Linked DNA regions of Homo sapiens: all the other regions are linked to region 2. The links are contacts of gene promoters, found by promoter capture Hi-C in blood cells and fetal thymus (Javierre and others, 2016). All regions are on one chromosome and are shown on one strand. Each heading gives the region's core, a stretch centred on a gene start or on the middle of the fragment in contact. The rest is flanking DNA. Distances are from core to core; before and after follow the strand shown. Region 1 overlaps MYSM1 (Myb like, SWIRM and MPN domains 1). Region 2 holds the start of FGGY (FGGY carbohydrate kinase domain containing). Region 3 overlaps LOC112268263 (a long non-coding RNA gene). Region 4 overlaps LOC112268263 (a long non-coding RNA gene). Region 5 overlaps OMA1 (OMA1 zinc metallopeptidase). Region 6 overlaps MYSM1 (Myb like, SWIRM and MPN domains 1). Region 7 has its middle 17 kb from the start of CYP2J2.

The links. Contacts are between HindIII fragments. The CHiCAGO score rates a contact against its expected background, and 5 or more counts as called.
Region 1: a contact is called between a fragment that was not itself captured here and the fragment with the promoter of FGGY in region 2, in 6 of 17 cell types (naive B cells, total B cells, total CD8 T cells and 3 more). The highest score is 9.5, in naive B cells.
Region 3: a contact is called between a fragment that was not itself captured here and the fragment with the promoter of FGGY in region 2, in 8 of 17 cell types (non-activated CD4 T cells, total CD8 T cells, naive CD8 T cells and 5 more). The highest score is 9.4, in non-activated CD4 T cells.
Region 4: a fragment that was not itself captured here is called in contact with the fragment with the promoter of FGGY in region 2 in 17 of 17 cell types (M0 macrophages, M2 macrophages, naive CD8 T cells and 14 more); the score reaches 20.0 in M0 macrophages.
Region 5: a contact is called between a fragment that was not itself captured here and the fragment with the promoter of FGGY in region 2, in 3 of 17 cell types (neutrophils, naive CD8 T cells and non-activated CD4 T cells). The highest score is 5.6, in neutrophils.
Region 6: a fragment that was not itself captured here is called in contact with the fragment with the promoter of FGGY in region 2 in 3 of 17 cell types (M0 macrophages, M1 macrophages and M2 macrophages); the score reaches 5.8 in M0 macrophages.
Region 7: a fragment that was not itself captured here is called in contact with the fragment with the promoter of FGGY in region 2 in 1 of 17 cell types (M0 macrophages); the score reaches 5.0 in M0 macrophages.

Annotation. Positions count from the first base shown.
Region 1 is chr1:58,689,835-58,692,980 of GRCh38, reverse strand. It overlaps MYSM1 (Myb like, SWIRM and MPN domains 1), which reads left to right. Exons shown (of 20, transcript NM_001085487.3): 3 at 50-120; 4 at 2,564-2,641; 5 at 2,732-2,755. Among named protein-coding and RNA genes, the nearest start is that of MYSM1, 8.7 kb to the left of the region's middle. The HindIII fragment of the contact is 1,985 bases long and covers 425-2,409 here.
Region 2 is chr1:59,295,631-59,298,744 of GRCh38, reverse strand. It overlaps FGGY (FGGY carbohydrate kinase domain containing), which reads right to left and starts at 1,651. Exons shown (of 16, transcript NM_018291.5): 1 at 1,595-1,651. FGGY-DT (FGGY divergent transcript) reads left to right here and starts at 2,195. Exons shown (of 2, transcript XR_001738089.2): 1 at 2,195-2,376; 2 at 2,981-3,114. RefSeq lists an enhancer at 1-192 and silencers at 1,610-1,699, 1,710-2,249. The HindIII fragment of the contact is 6,368 bases long and covers 1-3,114 here.
Region 3 is chr1:58,716,131-58,719,449 of GRCh38, reverse strand. LOC112268263 (a long non-coding RNA gene) reads right to left here. Exons shown (of 9, transcript XR_007066129.1): 4 at 1,530-1,693; 5 at 702-889. Among named protein-coding and RNA genes, the nearest start is that of MYSM1, 18 kb to the right of the region's middle. The HindIII fragment of the contact is 5,773 bases long and covers 1-3,319 here.
Region 4 is chr1:58,731,949-58,735,290 of GRCh38, reverse strand. All of the region lies in intron 5 of LOC112268263 (a long non-coding RNA gene), which reads right to left. Among named protein-coding and RNA genes, the nearest start is that of MYSM1, 34 kb to the right of the region's middle. The HindIII fragment of the contact is 3,546 bases long and covers 1-3,158 here.
Region 5 is chr1:58,535,725-58,538,667 of GRCh38, reverse strand. It overlaps OMA1 (OMA1 zinc metallopeptidase), which reads left to right. Exons shown (of 9, transcript NM_145243.5): 3 at 1,927-2,155. It also overlaps a transcript of DAB1 not described here. Among named protein-coding and RNA genes, the nearest start is that of OMA1, 9.5 kb to the left of the region's middle. The HindIII fragment of the contact is 2,130 bases long and covers 519-2,648 here.
Region 6 is chr1:58,670,096-58,673,019 of GRCh38, reverse strand. MYSM1 (Myb like, SWIRM and MPN domains 1) reads left to right here. Exons shown (of 20, transcript NM_001085487.3): 12 at 1,062-1,150. Among named protein-coding and RNA genes, the nearest start is that of MYSM1, 29 kb to the left of the region's middle. The HindIII fragment of the contact is 1,307 bases long and covers 621-1,927 here.
Region 7 is chr1:59,942,191-59,945,271 of GRCh38, reverse strand. It overlaps a transcript of CYP2J2 not described here. Among named protein-coding and RNA genes, the nearest start is that of CYP2J2, 17 kb to the right of the region's middle. The HindIII fragment of the contact is 634 bases long and covers 1,375-2,008 here.

The DNA.
Region 1 (3,146 bases), core at 168-2,667, 610 kb after region 2:
TTTCAAAAAGCAATAAATAAAAAGACAAATATATTCTCTTTTTTAATAGCCTTGGACCTTGGATAACACCATCAGTGAAGAGAACAGAGCTGTTATTGAGAAAATGTTGTTGGAAGAAGAGTATCCTTTAATGATTATGAGGAAAGTACAGGTTTCAGGGTGAAAAAAATCTATAAATGCAAAATTTACAAGAGGCCACTGTTTACTAGATGGATTTTATACAGCACCAGACTGCTATTATATAATTTCATGTTACCTATGTATGCAAAAAGCAGCATTTTCTTCCTCAGGTTCTGTTTTACTGTAACATCTGAGATCTGATTGCATATTTTGAGTTTCTGTCACTAGCCAACTGTTTATGATATCTGAATATTGAGTAGAAATGATAGAATATTTAAGTCATTTTGAACCTTAAGTCCAAGCTTGCATTTTTAAGTTATATAAGCTGAAACCCAGAGATGTTAATTTTCCAAGGGCACAGAGTTGGAACATGTAAAAGTTCTTCTCACTTCATAATTTACAGGTGTTACGTGGGAGGAATCTAAATAAAAAGCACAAAACAAATACTATAGAATGAAGATGTTTTCCCTACATTTGTGGATCCTTATTTATAGCTCAGTTTTCGTACATGTAAAAGGAGAGGATTGAATGAAATGATTTCTGATTTTATGATTTATAAAGATAGCTAGTCATAGTCTAATAAGTAGTGGTTTATTAATCTCCTTCATCTTCATTTTATGGATTTCTCCTTACTAAGCCAGAATTTCTCTGTTCCCACTATTTCCACTTATTGCCATGTTGATTTTAGAGTGTCTCTGTACCTTTAATTATCATAGGTTAACCCCATTTAGGCTTTCTTATTCTCTAATTCTCCCCAGACATTGCAGTTATAGCCTAGATTATTGCTATTCAGAGAAAGTCACATATAATTTAAAATTTTCCGATATCCTCATTTAACACAAAGGAAATTAATTTTAACTATATATTATATAACCTAAAATATTTAAAATATTCTCATTTTAACATTTAATCAAGATAAAAACATTAATGAGATAATTTTACATTTTTGTACTAAGTCTTTGAAATCCACTGTGTTTTGTTTTGTTTGTTTTTTGAGACGGAATCTCGCCTTGTCACCCAGGCTGGAGTGCAATGGTGCGATCTTGGCTCACTGCAACCTCTGCCTCCCTGGTTCAAGCGATTCTCCTGCCTCAGCCTCCTGAGTAGCTGGGATTATGGGCGCACACCACCACACCTGGCTGATTTTTTGTATCTTTAGTAGAGATGGGGTTTCACCATGTTGGCCAGGCTGGTCTTGAACTCCTGACCTCGGGATCTACCTGCTTCGGCCTCCCAAAGTGCTGGGATTACAGGTGTGAGCCACTGCGCCCGGCCAAAATCCACTGTGTTTTATACTTAGAGTACATCCTAGTTCATGCAAATAGTGTTTCCACTGGTCAGAAACCAGCGATGCACATGTGGTTGGTGGCCACTGTCTAGATAAAACACTTAAGTAGTCAGTGGTTCACTTCTAGATATGGAAACAAATAATGAGAGTATCTTTGTTCTCAGCATCTATACCTAGCATAGTACCTGACATATGCAGTAGATAGCCAATAAATACTTGTTAAGTGAAGAATATCTCAGGCTAATCTTAAAGTACTTCATCAGGCTAGTTTTTTGTTTTTGTTTTTTTTTTTTGAGACGGAGTCTCGCTCTGTCGCCCAGGCTGGAGTGCAGTGGCTCAAACTTGGCTCACTGCAAGCTCCGCCTTCCAGGTTCACTCCATTCTCCTGCCTCAGCCTTCTGAGTAGCTGGGACTACAGGCGCCCGCCACCACGCCTGGCTAATTTTTTCTGTTTTTTAGTAGAGATGGGGTTTCACCGTGTTAGCCAGGATGGTCTCGATCTCCTAACCTTGTGATCCGCCTGCCTCGGCCTTCCAAAGTGCTGGGATTACAGGTGTGAGCCACCGCGCCTGGCCTCATCAGGCTAGTTCTAATAACTTTAAGAGGGAAGTTCTCTGGTAGATTTGATCTAAATGTTTGCAATTTTTATTAAGGTAGAGAAGATCCTTGGATTCTTCTCTGTTGGCTTTAGAAATGTGGAAAATTATTCCCGAATTGCCTTGGACAACCAACCAAGTTTACCTATTACATTCTCCATATGTTTTGGAAGAAAATATTTAAACCAGGGTGTCCAGTCTTTTGGCTTCCCTGGGCCACACTGGAAGAAGAATTTTCTTGGGCCCCACATAAAATACACTAATGATAGCTGATGAGCCAAAAAAAAAAAAAAAAATCACAAAATAATCTCATGGTGTTTTAAGAAAGTTTACGAATTTGTGTTGGGCCACATTTGAAGCCGTCCTGGGCCACATGTAGCCTGCAGGCAGAGGATTGGACAAGCTTGATTTAAACATGGAGGCTGTTTCTTGTAGTCACTTCTAATTGGGAAGACAAGGGAACTATTAATAACATTTATGTAGCACACGTTTTGTATAAGTAATGTAAAAATTACATGACTGTAATATTGTTTAAAAAGTTTCCTTGATAGTTACACAGATATTATTTATCTAAAAAATCACAACCGGAAAAAGTCTGGCTTGATCAAAAGGAAGATGATAAAAAATACATGAAGAGGTAAAATCAATTTATAATATTTCTAAAAGTCTGGATTGTAGTTTTAGAAACCTCACACGCTTCCTTATTTTCTTTTTTCATGTGATGCAGTCTGCAGAAAACAGCAAAAATCATGTATGTACTTATATTTTATATTTATAAATCTGTTTTCATTAGTTAAAAATTATGGAATAATTTTTTTTTAATTATAGTTGGCCTGTGGAAAAGCCCTCTTGACCTTAAAGTAGATATAAAAACAGTTTTTTTAATAAAGATGTTGGAGTGGCACAAGTATAATTTTATGGTGTTATTTACTTGCCAGAATTTCTTTCATGGCCCTATGTAGGCAATTCTTTCAGATTGTGAAAAATATGGTTGTCCAGGGGTTTATGGGGAAATTTTGAGAAGCTGTTATGTGATATATTGGAATTGACTTGATTTCTTTTACTCTGTCAGTTAATTTTCACTTATTTTCAACAAAATTTTCATTTGGATTTGTGGCTTTCAAAAATTATCTGGAGAAATT
Region 2 (3,114 bases), core at 402-2,901:
GGGTGGAGGTAGGGGGTTCCACTCTGGCTAGGAGATTAAGGGCAAGATTCATTACCTCAAATTATTTTAAAAACCAGCTGGTAATTGACTGTGATTTAAACTATTTAAATCAATAAGTGAAAGGTTAGGTAAAGGGAACTATTTAAACTAATAAGTGAAAGGTTAGGGAAAGGGAACCAAATTCCAGGAAAAGCCAAGGCCCACAACAAAAACTAACACAGCCTGGAAGGCCCAGCCTCCTCCCAGTAAACTTATTAATTTTATCCAGAAAGACATGGCTCTCCACCCTCTGGGGTTATGCCCTTCTCCCAGCACACATGTTTTGACTTCCAAATCCAGCCAGGCAGGCTCCCAACCTCCCTCCCCCTCAAAATTGATCTCCAGGCCCAGCTGACCCCCTCTGATCTGTTCCCCCAATCATCCTTAATAACAGTGCTCTGGGCCTCCCACTAGGAGGTCCTCCAAGAGCCAGGCCAGTGGCCATCAGGTCAAGAGCCAAGCATGAGGGCCCCATTAACAGGAGACTCCCAGAAGACCAAGCGGCAGTCATCTGGCTGGAAAATCCAGCAAGCAAGTTAAAAAGGAAAAAAATCAGGACATACACGTGGTGGATCATAGAAAAAAAAGAGGAAAAGCAAGCAAAAACTATACAAAGCAAAACTCTACCATTTAAATAACAGCCACAAAATAAAAGACTTTCCCTTCTTTCATTCTGATTTACAAGTCAAAAGAATAAGCACCTCACCCCTCCTGGTCTCATACTTTAAAATTTAACCTAAGGATTAACTGCTTTTCAGACTTTGGTCATGTCATGACTGACTCTTCGGGGAAGAAATTTGTGTTAAGACACAGAAGTGCTTTAGTGGAAAACAGCCCATGATGAGGGAAATTCACCATTTTGCACCTTGTCAATTTTTTTTTTTTTTTTCTGAGACGCTCTGTCCCCCAGGCTGGAGTGCAGTGGCACGATCTCAGCTCACTGCAAGCTCCGCCTCCTGGGTTCACGCTATTCTCCTGCCTCAGCCTCCCGAGAAGCTGGGACTGCAGGCGCCCGCCACCACGCCCGGCTAATTTTTTGTATTTTTAGTAGAGACGGGGGTTTCACCGTGTTAGCCTGGATGGTCTCGATCTCCTGACCTCGTGATCCACCCGCCTTGGCCTCCCAAAGTGCTGGGATTACAGGCGTGAGCCACCGCGCCCGGCCCCTTGTCAATCTTTAAATAAAAAGGAAACGGCTAAAAATGAAAAGATATCCCTAGGCCTTTCTACTCAGGATAACTGTAACCAAACAGCATTATCTCATCTAAACTCAGCTGTGCCTCAAACATTATCACAAGTGCTGGAAGCGTTTAAATCTACAAGCAACACTAGCCTAAAAATGCCTTCGGTAGCCAGACGTGAATTAAAGGCTCCTCAAATGCCAGGAAAATGTCCTACAAGGGTAAGGGGAGGAGAGAAAGAGTACTGAATACAGATAAGTGGGCACTGATCGGAGAGGAAGCAGCACGGGTTCCAGACACCTAATAGGCAGCCTTGGGGATGCAGTCAAGGCCGACCCTTCCCTTCCCTTCCCTTAAGTGGCCGGACGCCTCACCCAGAAGAGGACACAGGGGACTCAACAACGTCTCGGGAACAACGGCCCGGCGGGTGTGAGACTAAGCGGCCAGGAGGAGGAAGGGGAGGAGGAGGCAGGGGAGGAGGAGGCAACGACTGCGGGAAAGGGGAAGGAAGGGCCGGGCCGGGTTGGAGAAGCCTCTTTCTGGGCGTGCGCGCTAAGAGCCTGCGCACCAGCAAAAGCCCCCAGCGCCCACGTGGGACTGAGAGGAGGGTCACTTACAGTACTTGTCCAATCTGAAATTACATTTTAGCTAGACGGATTCTGCACGTAGCCGCGCCGAACCCCACGGCGCCTGAGCAGGGCGGTCCCGGGGCGGCTACAGCCCCGCCTTGCGCGCGATCCCGCCCCCGCCGGCGCGGCCCCTGTAAAGCGCGGCCCCTGTAAAGCGCGGCCCCTGTAAAGCGCGGCCCCTGTAAAGCGCGGCCCCTGTAAAGCGCGGCCCCTGTAAAGCGCGGCCCCTGTAAAGCGCGGCCCCTGTAAAGCGCGGCCTGATTGGCCCTTTGAACCGGGCGTGGGATTGGCCGTCGCCTGCCCACCCCGCGGCTGCAGCGTTCCCTGGGGCCTAGCCAACCGCGGGCAGGGCTGGGCAAGGCGGGAGGAGCGCGGACCCAAGATCGGCTACGCTGCGTCTGCTCAGGCTGCGAGTTCCCGGCTCTGGGGACTCACCTTGCGGAGCTTACCCAGGCGGACTCTCCGCAGCCCCTGATGGGTGTGTGTGTCAGACCGTTTACTAAACACCAGGACTGTTGTAGGCGACTGTAAGAAATAAGAATATTGCATGGTTACAATTCTTGAATGCTTACCTTGTGTCTTGTTCCTTACTCTACAGAAATTTTCTAATCCCGTGGCGAACCCCCGTACTTCAACGTATGACATTCTGTAAATCTACAAAACAGATGGGTCCCTGCCTTTGAGAAGTTTTTACAATTTAGTGGGTACTGGACACGGACCTAATTTAATTCTCACATGCCTTCCCTTTCTAATAAGCTGCATGTTATGTATCCCTATTCTACAGATGTGGGGAATCCGAAATTTTTAGCTTTTACTGGGACACACAGCTAGCAAGCAACTAAAGCGAGAATTCCAACCTGAGCTCCAATCCGAACTATTTTCATAAAAGGCAGGATCCCAGGCTGAGGGAGTTCGAGGTTTGGGAGACAGTTTAGCAGTCGCTGAGTCCAAACATGTTGTTTTCCTAGAAAAGAAAACTGAGATCCAGGAAAGGGAAGTGATTTTCCAAAGACACACCTGTGAAAGGTAATAATTTCACTGAACGGATCTTAAGTGGCAGGTGCACTAAGATTGTCTGCTATCTTCACAACAACCCCGAAGTAAATAAGTGCTCTTATCTTGGTCTTACAGGTGAGGAGAACAGCCCAGTGAGGCTGAGGCCACACAATTAACCCCAGTCTTTGCACTACAACTCTACCAGGGATCCTGGTTTGGCTCATTTTCTTTCTTCTGCACCATGATTGTTCACCTTTTCATTACCAGCA
Region 3 (3,319 bases), core at 538-3,037, 580 kb after region 2:
AAGTCATTTTCCTTAGGTCTCTGTAAGAGAAGTCAAATGTTTATCGTACCTAAAATAATGGCCATACAGTGTTCTTCATCTCATCAGTTACATCAGGGCTTTACCTTGCAATCTGATGGTTTAGATCAACACAAGGGGGATATTTTGATGGCAGAAATTAAATCATTTAGAAATTGCTATAAGAAAGTAAGAAGTGTTAATATCTTTTCATAATGCACTATTTGGTTCACAAAATATTTTTAACTGCCTTATTTTATGTAATTCTTGAAGCAACATAGCAAATGAAGCATTATTCTCCACTCTCCTGTGACTACCCAGTGGGTCAGGACCATATCTTCAGTTCAGGGCCTGGCATTCAAGGGTGTTACATTATTAATAAACGAATGAGCAAATGCTTGGATAAGTGGAAAGTGTGATTCCCCATTTTCAGGATGCTAAAAACAGTTCAATGGAGTTAAGCGGCTTGATCCAGGAAATACAGTTTGTAGGTGGTGAAGACAAACAGCTATGTCCTCTGAGTTGACATTTCGCTTTGGATTTTACCAAAAATGAAAGGAGGCAAGAGAAAGACGGAAGAAAGGAGAGAGAAAGCTAAGGGGGAACTAAAGAAAAAGAAAAGAGTTAGTAAGCAGAGAGCTTGCCATTTTTCTGGGATATATCATTTGAAGGGAAGGAAACAAGTGCACACAGGATTTCCTCACCTCCAAGTCCTCAGGATGTAGCATGGCTGATGCAGCAAAGATTCTCAAAGACTTGGCATCTTTCCAGAGGCAAAGCACACCAGAGCAGGCACTTGCACCCGTGGCCATCTGAACTCCAGAGCTGCTTCAAATCACTTTCTCACTGGCAGATTCTTGACACTGATACTCTCTCTGGGTCATGGATACTCCTGTAAATGCAGATCATTAAAAAACCCAGACCAGCAAAGCTGATTGTGTTTACCGGGAGCAGAAAGGGGTGTTCTTTTCCCTCAAGTCATTCTTATGTGATTTTAAACTTTCCTGCTTGCACAACCTGAAGGGAAATCATTAGACTCAAGTTGTTATTTGGTTTTATTTATTTTTAAAATCATTCTGCAGCTTTAGAGTCCGTCTGTTCTACTCATTTAGCAGAGGAGGATGTGGGCAGGGCCAGATGATCTCAGATATAAAGTGAGATGCAAGAGTGTGATATTTATCTCAGGCTGAGGCTGACTGCAAAGGGCCATGATGGCCAGAAATGACAGAGCCCTCCTCCCTGCGCTACACAGCAGGGGCTGGTCCCCTGTGACCTTCTTAGGCACAACTCATTGCAGAGCTGGACCCTCACTTGAGTGGGGGCTGCTATGAACACTGACCTACAATGGCTGTTAAGGTCAAAGCCAGAGGAGGTTTGTATGCAGCACTGCTGAGAAAGACTGTTACCTGAGGCAGTGATACTTGTTAACCAGACCCCAGGCGAGCCCTTTCCACTTAGGATGTCATTATTTCATTTTGTCTCATACCATTTCGTCTTTCCAACAGCCTTCTGAAGTAGAGGTTCTTACCTACCATTACAGATGGTGAAACTGAGGCTGGAGAAGATGAGGACCTTCTAAAGGCACATGGCTAATAAATGGCACAGCCAGAGCTCCAGCCTGTTCACGTTCCACTCCACCATTCACTGTTCATGCCAGTGAACATCACCTTTTTCTTTCTGAGAATCCACCTAAGTTCTTAAATTAGAACAAGCCGTGATCAGACAAAATGGAAATAAAGATGAAATCCCTGCTGTAGAATGTAAGGGTGGGTGTGGGTCTACAGGCTGTCCTGGGAAGGGCCTCAGATGACTCTGTGCTCCCTCCCCCAGGCCCAGGCAGTCTCAGCCCCAGGCCAGGATGGGAAGATACAGAGGCCCAAGGAAAAAGGGGAAAGGGGCCCTTGCTCTGGGGCTAATGAGGTGTAACCACTGCACCCCCAGGCGACAGAGCCTTCCAACATCTCTGGCTCCTTTTATGCCAGATTCAAGCTAATGCTGAAAAATCCAAGTGGTCATATTATATTTTCAAAGGCTTAGTCGGATCAGTAAGAAGAATGCCCTGGAATCTTCACTGATGCAGTGAGGTCTGTTTCCAAGACATGGGGCCTAGAAGCCAAGAATCTCACTGAATCTCATCTGGGCTGCTTAACAGGGGAAAATCACAGCAAGTTCAAGGTGTTGGTGACTGTGATGGAAATGGGCTTCAGTGAGCATGAAATTAAATCAAATAAAAGCGTGGAAAACCTTGAAAAATCCCTTCCCATCTTAAATGAAAACACAGAAAATGTATATGAATAATTCCTTGATGTCCAGTTTTTTCTTCCAAAGTAAATCCCTCGAAGGGTTAGAACAGTTAGGGACAGCATGTGGCCTTCAAAACACACCCTCATATGTAAATAATTAACACAATATCTGTACTTTCAAAATTATTTTTACTATCATATTTTACCTAAACAATGACTTTCTAAAAACAGTTCTTGGCTTTCTCATAAATGTGATAGAAAACAACCTGTGGCATGGAGTTTATACGTAAAACACATTGTGGAAGACCTTCTACACTTTAAGTCCTCAAGTCAGAATAAACAAAAAGATGGCAATATGAGATTTTTGTTGATGCTCTTAGTAGGTCTATTTTATTATATTATGCAGGGTTCTAAAATAGATGATGAGATTCTCATCCTATGAAATGTCCTATGTCTGAGGTAGGACATTAGGAGCTGTGTCAAAATAGGTAAAGATAGAGACCTTGATGTGGCTTGGATGCAGTCTGTGTCCCCACCCAAATCTCATGTTCAATTGTAATCCTCAGTGTTGGAGGTGGGGCCTGGTGGGAGGTGATTGGATCATAGGGGCAGTTTCTAATGGTTTAATGCCATCCCCCCATCCCGGGTGCTGTTCTCAGGCTGTTGACTGAATTATCAAGAGATCTGGTTGTTTAAAAGTGTGCAGCACCTTCCCACCCCCACCTTCCTCCTACTGCAGCCATGTAAGATGTGCCTGCTTCCGTTTCACTTTCTGCCATGATTGTAAGTTTCCTGAGGCCTCCTCATTCATGCTTCCTATACTGCCTGTGGAAATGTGAGCCAATTAAACCACTTTTCTTCATAAATTACCCAGTCTCAGGTAGCTCTTTATTACAATGCAAGAGCAGACTAATACAGACCTGTTCAGTTTAATTCAACAAATATTTGTTGAACACATATGAATCATATATGTATGAAGAATTGTACCAAGTGTGAGAAAGAGCCAAAGTTGAACAAGTCGGATCCCTGCCTTCAGAACCCAAAATCAGGTGGGAGAAATAACTTTAAGCTACATATTT
Region 4 (3,342 bases), core at 136-2,635, 560 kb after region 2:
CAGTAGTTACTATTTTAAGTGGTGATATGGTTTGGATCTCTGTTCCTGCCCAAATCTCGTGCTGAATAGCAATCCTCAGTGTTGGAGGTGGTTGGATCATGGGGGTGAAATTCTCATGAATGGTTTAGCACCATCCTCCCTTGGTACTGTGTAGTGAGCCAGTGAGTTATCATGGGATCTGGTTGTGTAATGGTGTGTAGCACCTCTCCCCTCTCTCTCTTGCTCCTTCTCTGACCATGTAAGACATCCCTGCTTCCCTTTCACCTTCGACCATGATTAAAAGTTTCCTGAGGCCTCCCTGGAAACTGAGCAGATGCCAGCATCATGCTTCCTTTACAGCCTGTGAAACCATGAGCCAATTAAACCCTCTTTTCCTTATAAATTACCCAGTCTCAGGTATTTCTTTATAGCAATGCAAGAACAAACTAATACAAGTGGTATGGGATGGTTGATGAGTGGAGTCTCCAAGAATCTATTAAAGAGAAGAGGGTGAGTGGCAAGCAGGCCTGAACAGATCTTGGAGAAACTGGGATATGAACTAATGACTTGGCATTTATTCTATGGGCCAAGAAATTATAAACTTTCCCACTGAAACACCTCTTATGGCGGAAAGAGCAAACTTGTGCTGCTAAGGTAATATGTTTGGATCTGTGTTCCCTCTGCAAATCTCATGTTGAGCTGTGATCCCCAATGTTGGAGGTGGAGCCTGGTGGGAGGTGATTGATCATAGGGACAATTTCTCATGAATGTTTTAGTACTGTCCCCTTGGTACTGTCCTCAGGACAGTGAGTGAATTCTCATGAGATCTGGTGGTTTCAAAGTGTGTGGCACCTCCCCCTTCCCTCTCTCTTGCTCCTGCTTTTGCCATGTGAAGTGCCTGCTCCCTCTTTGCCTTCTGCCATGATGAAAATCTCCCTGAGGACTCCCCGGAAGCAGATGCCACCATGCTTCCAGTACAGCCTGCAGAACTGTGAGCCAATTAAACCTCTTTTCTTGTAAATTACCCTGTCTCAGGCATTTCTTTATAGTAATATGAGTATGAACTAATATGCAAGGGTTCTGACACCAACTGCTACAACTAAAAAAAAATTCTTTGAAATATTTCAGCCCATCCAAATTTTTCATCTTGGCTATAATATATTCATTTGTTTTCATGTAAAATGATGTTTTTAGTTACTAGCCATCACGTAAAATTAGCATTTTAAAGTGATATTATGTTTAGCTTATGGCTCTGGGACCTGGTCACATACAACAGTTTGGGGAGCACAACCTGAGACAACATGAAGATATTGAACGGCTTTGAGGAACAAAGTAAAATCCAGAAGTTGCTTTTCTGAATTATCTCTGAGCTGCTGTGTAAAAGCGGGGAGATTTGTTTGAAGGCTACTATAACAATCCAAGCGAAACATGATGAGACACTGAAGGCAGACCCTGGCAGGGAGTATGAGAAGAAAGGAACCAATACAGGGAATGAAGAGAGCTTGGGCAAGTCCCTTCACTCCAGAACTCAGCAGAATAAACAGGTTGAACCATATGACAGACAAGGCCCTCCCCAGCCCAAAGATATTGTCACTTTTCTCTGCTTATCTTTACTTTCCCTTATGCTTGCCTCTTAATCTATTATAAGTATTCATAGTTTATTTCACTCAAAAGCCAGCTAAGGGACTTTAGCTGCTAGTTTTGCCAATGAGACAAAATTGTACAGACTTGTTTGTTTTACCTGTTAATATCCCAAGGAACTGTTGTTCTGCGGGACACTCTTTTTTATTTATTTATTAATTTTTTGAGACGGAGTCTTACTCTGTCGCCCAGTCTGGAGTGCAGTGGCGTGATCTCGGCTCACTGCGAGCTCTGCCTCCCGGGTTCACGACATTCTCCTGCCTCAGCCTCCCGAGTAGCTGGGACTACAGGCGCCCGCCACCACACCTGGCTAATTTTTTGTATTTTTTAGTAGAGACGGGGTTTCACTGTGTTAGCCAGGATGGTCTCAATCTCCTGACCTCATAATCCGCCCACCTCGGCTTCCCAAAGTGCTGGGATTACAGGCGTGAGCCACCGCACCTGGCCTCTCAGACTTGTTTGTTTTAAAGGAGGAGAGGAAGTTCTAGATATAAGCAGAGATTTTTTTTTCTTTTTTTTTTTTTTTTTTGAGACAGTGTCTCACTCTGTCACCCAGGCTGCGGTACAGTGGCACAATCTCGGCTCACTGCAACCTCCGCCTCCCTGGTCCAAGCGATTCTCCTGCCTCCCAAGTAGCTGGAATTACAGGCATGTGCCACTGCACCTGGCTAACTTTTGTATTTTTAGGAGAGACGGGGTTTCACCATGTTGGCCAGACTAGTTTCGAACTCCTGACCTCAAGTGTTCCACCTGCCTTGCCTTCCCAAAGTGCTGGGATTACAGGCACGAGCCACTGAGCCCAGCCTATGCAGTGATATTTTGACATAGGATTTGAGTAATTTCCAATTCCAGTTTTGTAACATGTTACCTGACATGTAAAGGCACTCAATAAATAACTGTTGAATTACCGAAGTAATGAATGACGAGTTACGTATTTCAATGCATTCAAAACTTCTTATGGGAAGTCTTCCCTTACATTATCTGTGCAACTTGACCTCATCTTGGCCCTTCTGCCATAATGCAAGGCCTTGTGCTTATGCTGTTGTCTCTGCTTAAAATGCCCTTTGTCTCGTAACCCATCTGGAAAATGTCTACTCACTTGTCATAACTCAGTTCTCACATATATTGTTAGAGAACAGTGTAACTATGTAAAATGAACATAGGCATTAGAGTTGCAAAGACCTAGGTTCACATCCAGGCTCTCACACATACAATGGGAAGCTGTCCCAAGAGTTCTTTCTGTTAACTTTTGGTTTACTAAGTGATAAGGAAAACAAGAAAAACTGTTTTACCAAATCCAGTCATCATTTTCCATGGCTGTGAATCATATTTCTGCAGGCAGTCCAACCTAGTAATAGACAAAGCCTCATATTTGGCTTTGCTCAATGTCTTAAACTGCTGCCAAGTAGAAACATGGCCATGAGTTGAATAGCAAACGTATCTGATGGCATTAAAATCTCAGCTATAACTGGATGCACCAGAACTTTCACTTCATTCAATTTCTGGATTTCAACCAGGTCAAACATGTTGACTAAGCTTGGGCATTGCTGTGCTGCAGGCGTCCATACTTTAAGTTTGGGGTTGACCAAAACTGGGCAAGTTCAGTGAGGCATTCATGGCAAGACTGTGGGAAACCAATTGGAAGGGTGGAGCCCCTCATCCTTCCACTAAACATACATTTTCAGCTTGTACCCTAATCCACCTTGTTGACACACCAGGTTC
Region 5 (2,943 bases), core at 334-2,833, 760 kb after region 2:
GATCCCCTGTCTCCCCCCATTTAGCTCAAAGTGAAGTTTCTAAACAGTAGGTCCTGCCCAATTTTGTTCTGTATGATTTAATAATCTTGAAACAATTTCCTGCATACTAATTTATGGTATAGAAATATCTCTTTAAAAAGTTATTCTTACATTTTGTATAGGCATTAAAAAAATCTTATATTTATGACTACAAAATCTTAGGATATATGGATCAGAAGTGCTGGTTATCACTTATGTATAAGAAGAGTACTTACAAACATTTCTTTTTAATTTGTGGAATTTAAGGCAGCAAATCATAAAATTGAGGAACTTTGCTTATATAAGGGTGGGCTCACTCCTAGTTAACTCTTAAGTCATTAATGCTTCTTTTCTTTCTATTCTGTTCCCAACAAATCTTTGTTTTTTTCCTTGGTGATCCTTTATAATAATATTTTCACAGCTTGTAGTGCTTTAACCCTTTTTCTCTTGTTTGTTTTATGAAGATGGAAGAAAGCTAATCACTGTTTCTTCATAAAGCTTTCTTGTGTTTGATGACTGTGAAGTCCCTTCTAGCCTTCTTACTACCACATGAACCAAACCAGTTTGCTTTTGATCAAAAACCAAGAACTTCTATTTGTAACTTATTGTGTTTTTCATGATTTGGTGTTGGCACCCAAAAGCGATACAGCTGTATTGACTATTGGTTGAAGTAATACGCTCATCCCAGGTTCTTCGGATGCTCTTTCTGATTTCTGCTATGTCCTCATCCTTTTAAATTATTTATTTGTAACTTTCTTGTTTTTGTTACTATTGTTGATCACCTAAAATTTTTCATTTAGAATATGTCTTTCATACATTTTAAATAAAGGATAATGTCATGTAAAGTTTTAAATAGGAAATAAGTATACTCGATAGTTTGATTTATGTCCCTTTAAATGGACACACTTTGTGTAAAGGCATTGGGGTGTGTCACTTCACAAAGAGAACTTTAAGAATTTGTAAAATAAATTTTTGTCAAGAGAATGATGTATATATGGTAAATTTTTGTTGTGATTTTACAGATCAACTCATAAGGAAAATTTTTGTCCCAGTATTGAAAACATTGCTTGTTGTCAAAATGTTTCTGAACACTGCTAAGTGGCAGAGAGTATTGTTGCCTGGTAGAAATTGGACCTTCTCAGATGTTATCTATAAAATCTCCCACTTTCTTATGAATACCTAGGATCTTGTTATCTCTCCTTTTTCACGTTGTAAAGAGGATAGTGGAGTTTCTGCTACTGAGCACTATTTATTTCCAAAATGAATGCTGAGGCAGTTTCCCTTGTACCTTGTGGAATCACTGGCAAATTGTGTTGGAGGTCTGAGGAGCAGTGGGAAAAGTAGTGGTTCCAGGTATAGATTTATTGTACTGTAACCTCTTACATAATTATTTAGGCATTTATCCCTATTAAGTGGCTAAGTGGTCAGACTCTGGAATGTCATTGCCTTCATTGCTTGGTTTTCCTTTTATTACCTCAGTGGCCATGGACAAGTTACCTAACAATTTTATCTTCTGTAACAGGGTTATTATGAAGATTAAATGAGATGGTATATATATATATACAGAGAGAGAGAGAGAGAGAGAGAATTTTGCATGTACTAGATAGTAATAAATATTAACCAGTGGTAGTTATAGTAAACTAGCATCTCATTTAGTGTTTATCCTTAAAATAGCTGAAGAAGAAAATTTCGATGAGTATTAGAATTTTTTAACTGTAACTTTACATCATTGATTATTTTTTCATCATTTAGCTAAGAATTTTATTAATTGGAAAAGCGATGTATTCAGCGAAATACATCATACAAATTCAGGTATTTGAGGACGTAAAATTCTAGTGTATGCATTTGAGCTTTAGTGATATGTGCTGGAATGATTTTCAGAACTTTGAATTTTTCTTTTTGCTTTAGGGGCATAAGGAAATGGTGGCAGGCACTTCCTCCTAACAAGAAGGAAGTAGTTAAAGAAAATATAAGGAAGAATAAATGGAAGCTATTCCTTGGTTTGAGTAGTTTTGGATTGCTCTTTGTGGTGTTTTATTTTACTCACCTGGAAGTAAGTCCAATCACAGGAAGGAGCAAGCTACTATTATTGGGGAAAGAACAGTTCAGACTTTTATCGGAACTGGAATATGAAGCAGTAAGTAGTAAGAGTTGTTTTTAATTAGACTGCTTAATATAACACTCAAAGTAGGAAAGTATCTTAAATGTGAAAGATATGTTGTTTTTTAATTTTAGTCTTTGATATGAAATTAGCATTTTTTTTTCCCGAAGGCCTCAGACCTTTCACACTTAGTATTCCTACTGCCTACATTGCTTTTCCTAGCATTCACCCAGCTAACTCCTGCTCAGCACATTTCACCTTAAATGTCACTTTTCTCAGGAAAACCTTCCTTGATTATCCAGACTGGGTTAGGCAGGGTGACTGGATCAGGCCCTAGGAGGTATCCTTCATACCGACTGAATTATGAACCAGCTCATTTGTAGTTGCGCCCATTGCTTGGCTTTACTGGGGTTAGGTCTCCTAGGCTTTTTTTCTCTGCATACTGTACTTTTCCTTCAAAGCACTCATGAGAGTAACATAATTATTTGCATAATTATTTTTTTGATTGTCTTTCTTGTTAGACTAAGCTTCATGGGGGCAGGGATCTTACCTGTTTTGTTTATGGTTTTAAATACTAACACAGTATGTAAGAGTAGAGCTTAGTATATATTTATTGAATAAATAGATTTATAGTCAGAATTCTTATACCTTGAAAATCAAGTAATATAAGATTTTTTTCCCAAACATCAGTTTTAGCAATTTATTATATTTTTTGAATCCAAATTTAAGTTATAATTTAGAAGTCTTACCTCTTTGGAAAGTATAGTAACTCAGGTAGTTAAACATTTTGTACCCTAGTGAGTTTCTTAGGGACAGAGGTCATT
Region 6 (2,924 bases), core at 25-2,524, 630 kb after region 2:
ACTATATAAAGATGCTAGTACTAGGTATTCAGTAAGCCTTGCATGCACAAAGTACTCAAACTTGAGTTCTCTTTCCTCCTCCGCATTCCCTGCCCTCAACTTCTCACCTGAGTACTATTCTAGGCACAGTAATTAGTAATTCATCCTTCCCATAAGGGGCTTGTATTTCTAATAGGAAAGACAAAACCTATGGTAAGTTCAATAAGGTTGGTCCCAAGAATTGTAAGTTTCTCCCAAAGGCTGTGATCAGGGCAGGTTTCGTAGAGTATGTGGGGTATAATCTGATCTGAAGGATCTGCAGAAGAATCTCAAAATGGAGATGAATACACTTTAGGCTGAGGGAACAAAGCTGGAGACATGGGAAAATACTAGATATATTCTGGAAAAGGTGCATAGTTCATTTGGACTAGGGTGTAAGTTGGTCGTAGAAATGGAATAGAGATTTACTTTATTTTATAAACACTTATAAAGGGCTTACTGTGTGTCAGACAATGTCAGTATTTTATAAACATTAACTCAGTCTTCACAATAATACCATGACAGTGGTATTATTGTTTACTTTTTATTATTAATTTTATTGTTCCCATTTTTAAAGATGAGGTAACTGAAGCATGAAAGCTTTAGAATTTGCCTAGGGTCACCAAGCTAGTAAATAACTGGGCCAGACATTCTAGATCCAGAATCTGTTCTTAATCATTACTCTGCACTGTCTCTCAGTTGTGAAAGAAAACTCAACACAGTAGAATATGGTAAGTAGAAATGGGAAATAAAAGACTCAGGTGATTCTGACGTTTTTGAACCTGGGTGACTGGTACCATTGATTGAAATGGGCAAATCAAGAGAAGGAGTAAATTTTCAGTTTGGGATGGCCGTGTCTTTTGAAACAATTTTTTAAAAATACTGTCCAGTCTTTCTACATGTTGGTAGCAAAAAGGAAGCCCATCTATATCAATTTAGTCTCTCTTGTCCTCACATGCCCTTCAATTTGATTTTAAAGGACTATTTTTATTCTGCCTCTTAGTAGATGATGGACTCCTTAATCAATTGGCATTTTGTTTTAGCATCTCTCTGCTGAGGAGTTGGCAAAAAGAAGAGAAGAGGAAAAAGGCAGACCTGTTAAATCTTTAAAAGTGCCAAGACCAACAAAAAGGTGTAGTGTTATATAAATGTGGTTTTTAAACATTTATCACAAATGGCTAGATAATATATGAAAAAATATTCAATAGCTGCATTATATTGTTCACATTAAGTTTAAAAAAATACTGCTACAATTTTTTAGATTTTTTTTGTTTCACTGATTATGAATTTGGAAGACCTTGAACAAACATTTTAAATTTGTTCAGATTCATTGAACATATGATCCAACATATGTTGTAAAGGGGCCCTGTTTAGGACAGGTTGGTCATTCAACTCTAGACGCTATGGACAGGAACCTTCATGAAATGACTGGGTTTTCTTTGGGTGGTACTAATTGTTAGCAAGTTGTTGCATGGTTTGTTGTTTTCTAATGCATGTGTAATCTAAAATTTGAGCCTTTTAAAATTAAGGGTCACCAAATAAGTTAAATGTTCCGATTTTCTATTCCCTCTTCCTGCAGATGCCCCATTGAATAGACTGTAGTTTTGTCAGTGTACCTTTTAAAAGAAGATATCCAGGAATGCCACTAGATCATATTTTTGCCTGATAAATGTCCTCGGGTAATCCTTAGGTTCTCATTTATTAAACAATAATTTAAATAACACTGTTAGCTGTATTTTAAGCACTTTATATTTATTAGCTCATATAGTCTTCATGACAACCCTGTGCATTAGTTAATGTTCTCACTCCCATTTTATAGATGAGGAAACTGAGAGGCATAGAGAGGTTTAATAACTTGCTCACGCTGTCAAGTAGTGGAGCTGTTGATTTTAAACCCAAGTGTTAAGCTTAAGAGTTCATACCCCTAATCATTACAGTATATATTACCTCTCTAAAGTAAAAATAAAACTTACACAGTTGTCGTGAGACTGAATTAGATAAACTATGTAAAAAATAGTCCTCCATAAGCTAGGACTCCTCATCCAGTATCCAGATAATTGATTTTCTGACTCTAAATGTGAGACTTATATTTATTGTGATTTTCAAGTCATTGTTCAAGGTCTTCAGGATCTTTTTGAATCCAGATCCACTTTTCTCATTTTAGCCTTTGTAGCACTGTATCATTAACATTTCAATAAGCTTGCCTTTCCTGCCATTACTCACTGATTGCAATGTTTAATTGAATAAATGTAAACCTCATTGTATATATTTAAACAACGAAGACATTCATTCTTCAATCAGCTATATAGATTACCACAATTAACGCATATATCTTCATCTTATACAGAAGGATAATCATATCGGATGTCTTGTTTAATTTCAGATAAAATATATTTAAGTCTTTAGTTTCTAACAGATTATTCCTATCAATAGTGTCTACAATAAGGTCTACTTATCATGACTTTTCATGAACTCATTATTTTACTTAGTCACCTCTTCACTTGGTTAAGGATCACAAATCAGCTGTTTCATAATTTTTTCTAGAATTTTACTACTGTTCAACATCTAGTTCCTCCTTTTCTGCAGTCTGCTTTTTTGTATTGTGAAACAAGCTCAATAATTGTCTATTTCTAGTCCTTCAGCAACTTTCCCATTCTCTGCAGTTCCTCAACAAACACTGACAGCGGTTCCATATCCGTGGTTCTTAAGTACTCCAGGATGTTCTTTCTGTGCTATTTTCTCATCTATCTTGGCCTTCAGTTTCTTTTTGTGTTGATTAAACACTTTCTAATTTAAAGGTCTTTCTTTATTCAACAAGTATCTTTGAATGTGTACTGTATATGTCAGGCACGGTTCTGATCACTTGGGATACATTATTAAGCAAAACAAAATGTTCTCTTGAAGCT
Region 7 (3,081 bases), core at 442-2,941, 650 kb before region 2:
ATAACAAAATAGTGTCAGATGGGCCAAAAATATTACAGCAAAAATTAAACCACAAAAGAATTCAGAGAAAATCTGGCGACATAATATTATTGCAGTAAAAATGCTGTTCTTAACCATTTTTTTAACCATTTTCTTAATTGTGTCAATTAAGCATGACACAAAGCTGTGAAGCCCCACTCCCCAAAAAAGTTTGATAATTCTGGCTACATTTTAAAAACAAAATTTCTACATGGTAAAAATACTATAGTCAAGGTCAAAGACCAGAAAAAATGTAAAGAAAATACTAGCAACATAAATAATAGATAAATATCTAGTTATCTTAGTGTATTATGGGATATACAAGCCAACAAGAAAAGTATCAACTACCCAATAGAAGAAATCTGGGTGAGGGTCATGATTTCAGAAAAAAAATAAATGCAAATGGCTTTTTTTAAAGTGGCATTTAAAATAATGCAATTAAAATAATGCATTTTTTGAAATTTAAAATTTTTTGACCTTTAAAATAATGTAATTAAAAATAATAAATAATAAAATTGAAACTAAATGTCATTTTTTACTAATCCAACTGGCAAATAACCACAAGCTCTGAATTGGCAAGCAAGGAAGAAACAGATATTCTTGTACGTAGGAAATAGAGACTCTTGGCAAGGAAATCCAGTCATATTTATCGGTATTTAAATGAAAATACCCTTTTGCCCAATAGTTCTCCTTTTATGAATTTGTCCTACAGACATACTCAAGAATTTTTAGGCCAGGCACAGTGGCTCATGCTTGTAATCCCGGTAATTTGGGAGGCCAAGGTGGGCAGATCACTAGAGTCCAGCAGTTCAAGACCAGCCTGTCCAACATGGTGAAACCCCGGCTCTACTAAAAATACAAAAATTAACCAGCCGTGGTGGCGCATGCCTGTAGTCCCAGCTACTTGGCGAGCTGAGGCGGGAGGATCTCTTGAGCCTGGGAAGTTGAAGCTGCAGTAAGCCGAGATCACACCATTGTATTCCAGCCTGGGTGACAAAGTGAGACCCTGTCTCAAAATAAATAAATAAATATGACTACAAACACCTTCTCTGAAGCATTGTTTATAACTTTAGACAGCTAGACACAATACCAATGCTCATTGTATGAGACATTATAGGTAGTCATTTTTTAAACTATAGAAATCTATACATACTTAAACGGCTAAGATATTTTATTAAACTAGAATTGCAAGGCTTAGGATCATATCTCTAGCAAGCAAGCAACAATTTGTACATTAAAGGGGCCACTAAGTATACAAATGCATATATGTATATATGAAGCTACATTTTGAAGGAATTACCTTTAGTTGCTGTCTCCACTTCAACTCCCATTTCTTCAGCATACCACAATCAAGCTTCCTTTCTAGCCACTCAACTGAGATACTCTGAGATCACCAGTGACTTCCACACTGATAACTCCAAGTACCACTTCTCTGTTCTTATCTCATTTTTTCTCCGCAAATTCAACACACTGACCAATCCCTTCTTTTTGAAGATCTTTTCTCTTACATCCTTGGTGATGATGTCGGACTTTCCCTTCTTTCCCTACAACCCTTTGTGGGGGGAAAAAAAAAAAACTGCTTCAGATATTTTCTGCAATACTTTTGAAAGCTCTTGAACTCAGTTATCTTGCTAAACCCAAAATCATGGCATATACTCATCGAACTTGCTAAAATTGACTGTTTCCTTGCTAAACTTCAACTACAGACCATACTTTCCTGGACTTGTTTACCTGTAGCCTGTCTAATTCTGACCACTCGTGCTAATCTCTGCATTGCCCCAACAACATATTCCTCTCTCTCCATCCGTATTTTCTCACAAGAAATCTATGTGCCCAGAAAACATCAGCTAATCACCAGGGGTGAGGACGAGTTGTACTTCCAGGCCCTCCTGCTAGCAGTTATGAAAGGTTTCCTCTCTCTTTCTCCATTCGGCTGGTCTTTATTTCAGGGCTCTTGCTGGCTCCTTCTCCTCTCTTCTACTTCTAAGCTTTGGCAGATCTAAGAGTCTTTCAGTACCTCTTGATTCTCTCTCTATATTCTTCCTAGGTGATTTCGTCCAGTCCTGTGACCTAAAAATACTTCTTCCTAAATCATCAGACCTGAATAATCAGCTTTCTACTTGACACGTCCACTTGGATAACTAATAAATACATCAAATTTAAAATGGCCAGAAGAGAATTCTTTATTGTTCCACTTAAACCTGTTCTCCTTTCATTTTTTTCTCATATCAACAAATAGCACCACCACCCAAAATTGAAACATTAACTATTTTTACTTAGTTGTTAAAAATTAGATACTTTACCTTTAGTTTCTTCATTTTGTAAAACGGGGTTCATAAGAGTACCTACTTCAGAGGATGGTTATGCAGTTAAGTGAGTTACTCTGTGCCCAGCACATAGTAGGTTCTTAAAAGATATGATTGTTATTATCATTATTTTTTATTACTCTCTTCTCATCAACAAGCTCGTTTTAACTCTACTTCCAAAAACATTTCTTGAATTCCATCTGCTTTTCTTCCCTCCCTCTGCTACTGCTAATCTAAGCCAATGCCATCCACCAACCTGTTCACTGCAATGATCTCCTAACCTGTCTCTCCTACTTCTGCTCTCACACCTACAGTCCACAATCTTTAAGGAAATTTAGCAGAAAAAAAAAATCAGATCATGTCACTCCTTGATTAAAAAGCTTCAACGGCTTCTAATCAAACTTAAAATATAAACCAAACTGACCCTGGCTTACACATTCCTTGTCCTACCTGATGTCTATCCTCCAACCCTGAAACATTGCCCCACTCCTCCCTCTCCTTCACACACTCTGCCCCGCCACAGGAATATGCCAAGATTCTTCCCATTTTAGGAGAAGAATCTTTTAGGCGAATCTTTACACTATCTAGTCCTTCTTCATGGAATGCTTCCCCCTCCCCTCAACTATAACTAGCTCTATTTCTGGCTCCTTCTTGGCATTCAGGGGTAAATTGCTATTCCTGCTCACAAGACCCTCCTAGGTCACCAAACCTCAAGCAGACACCAGTCACTTTCTTTCACATAGCTTTATTTTATTTT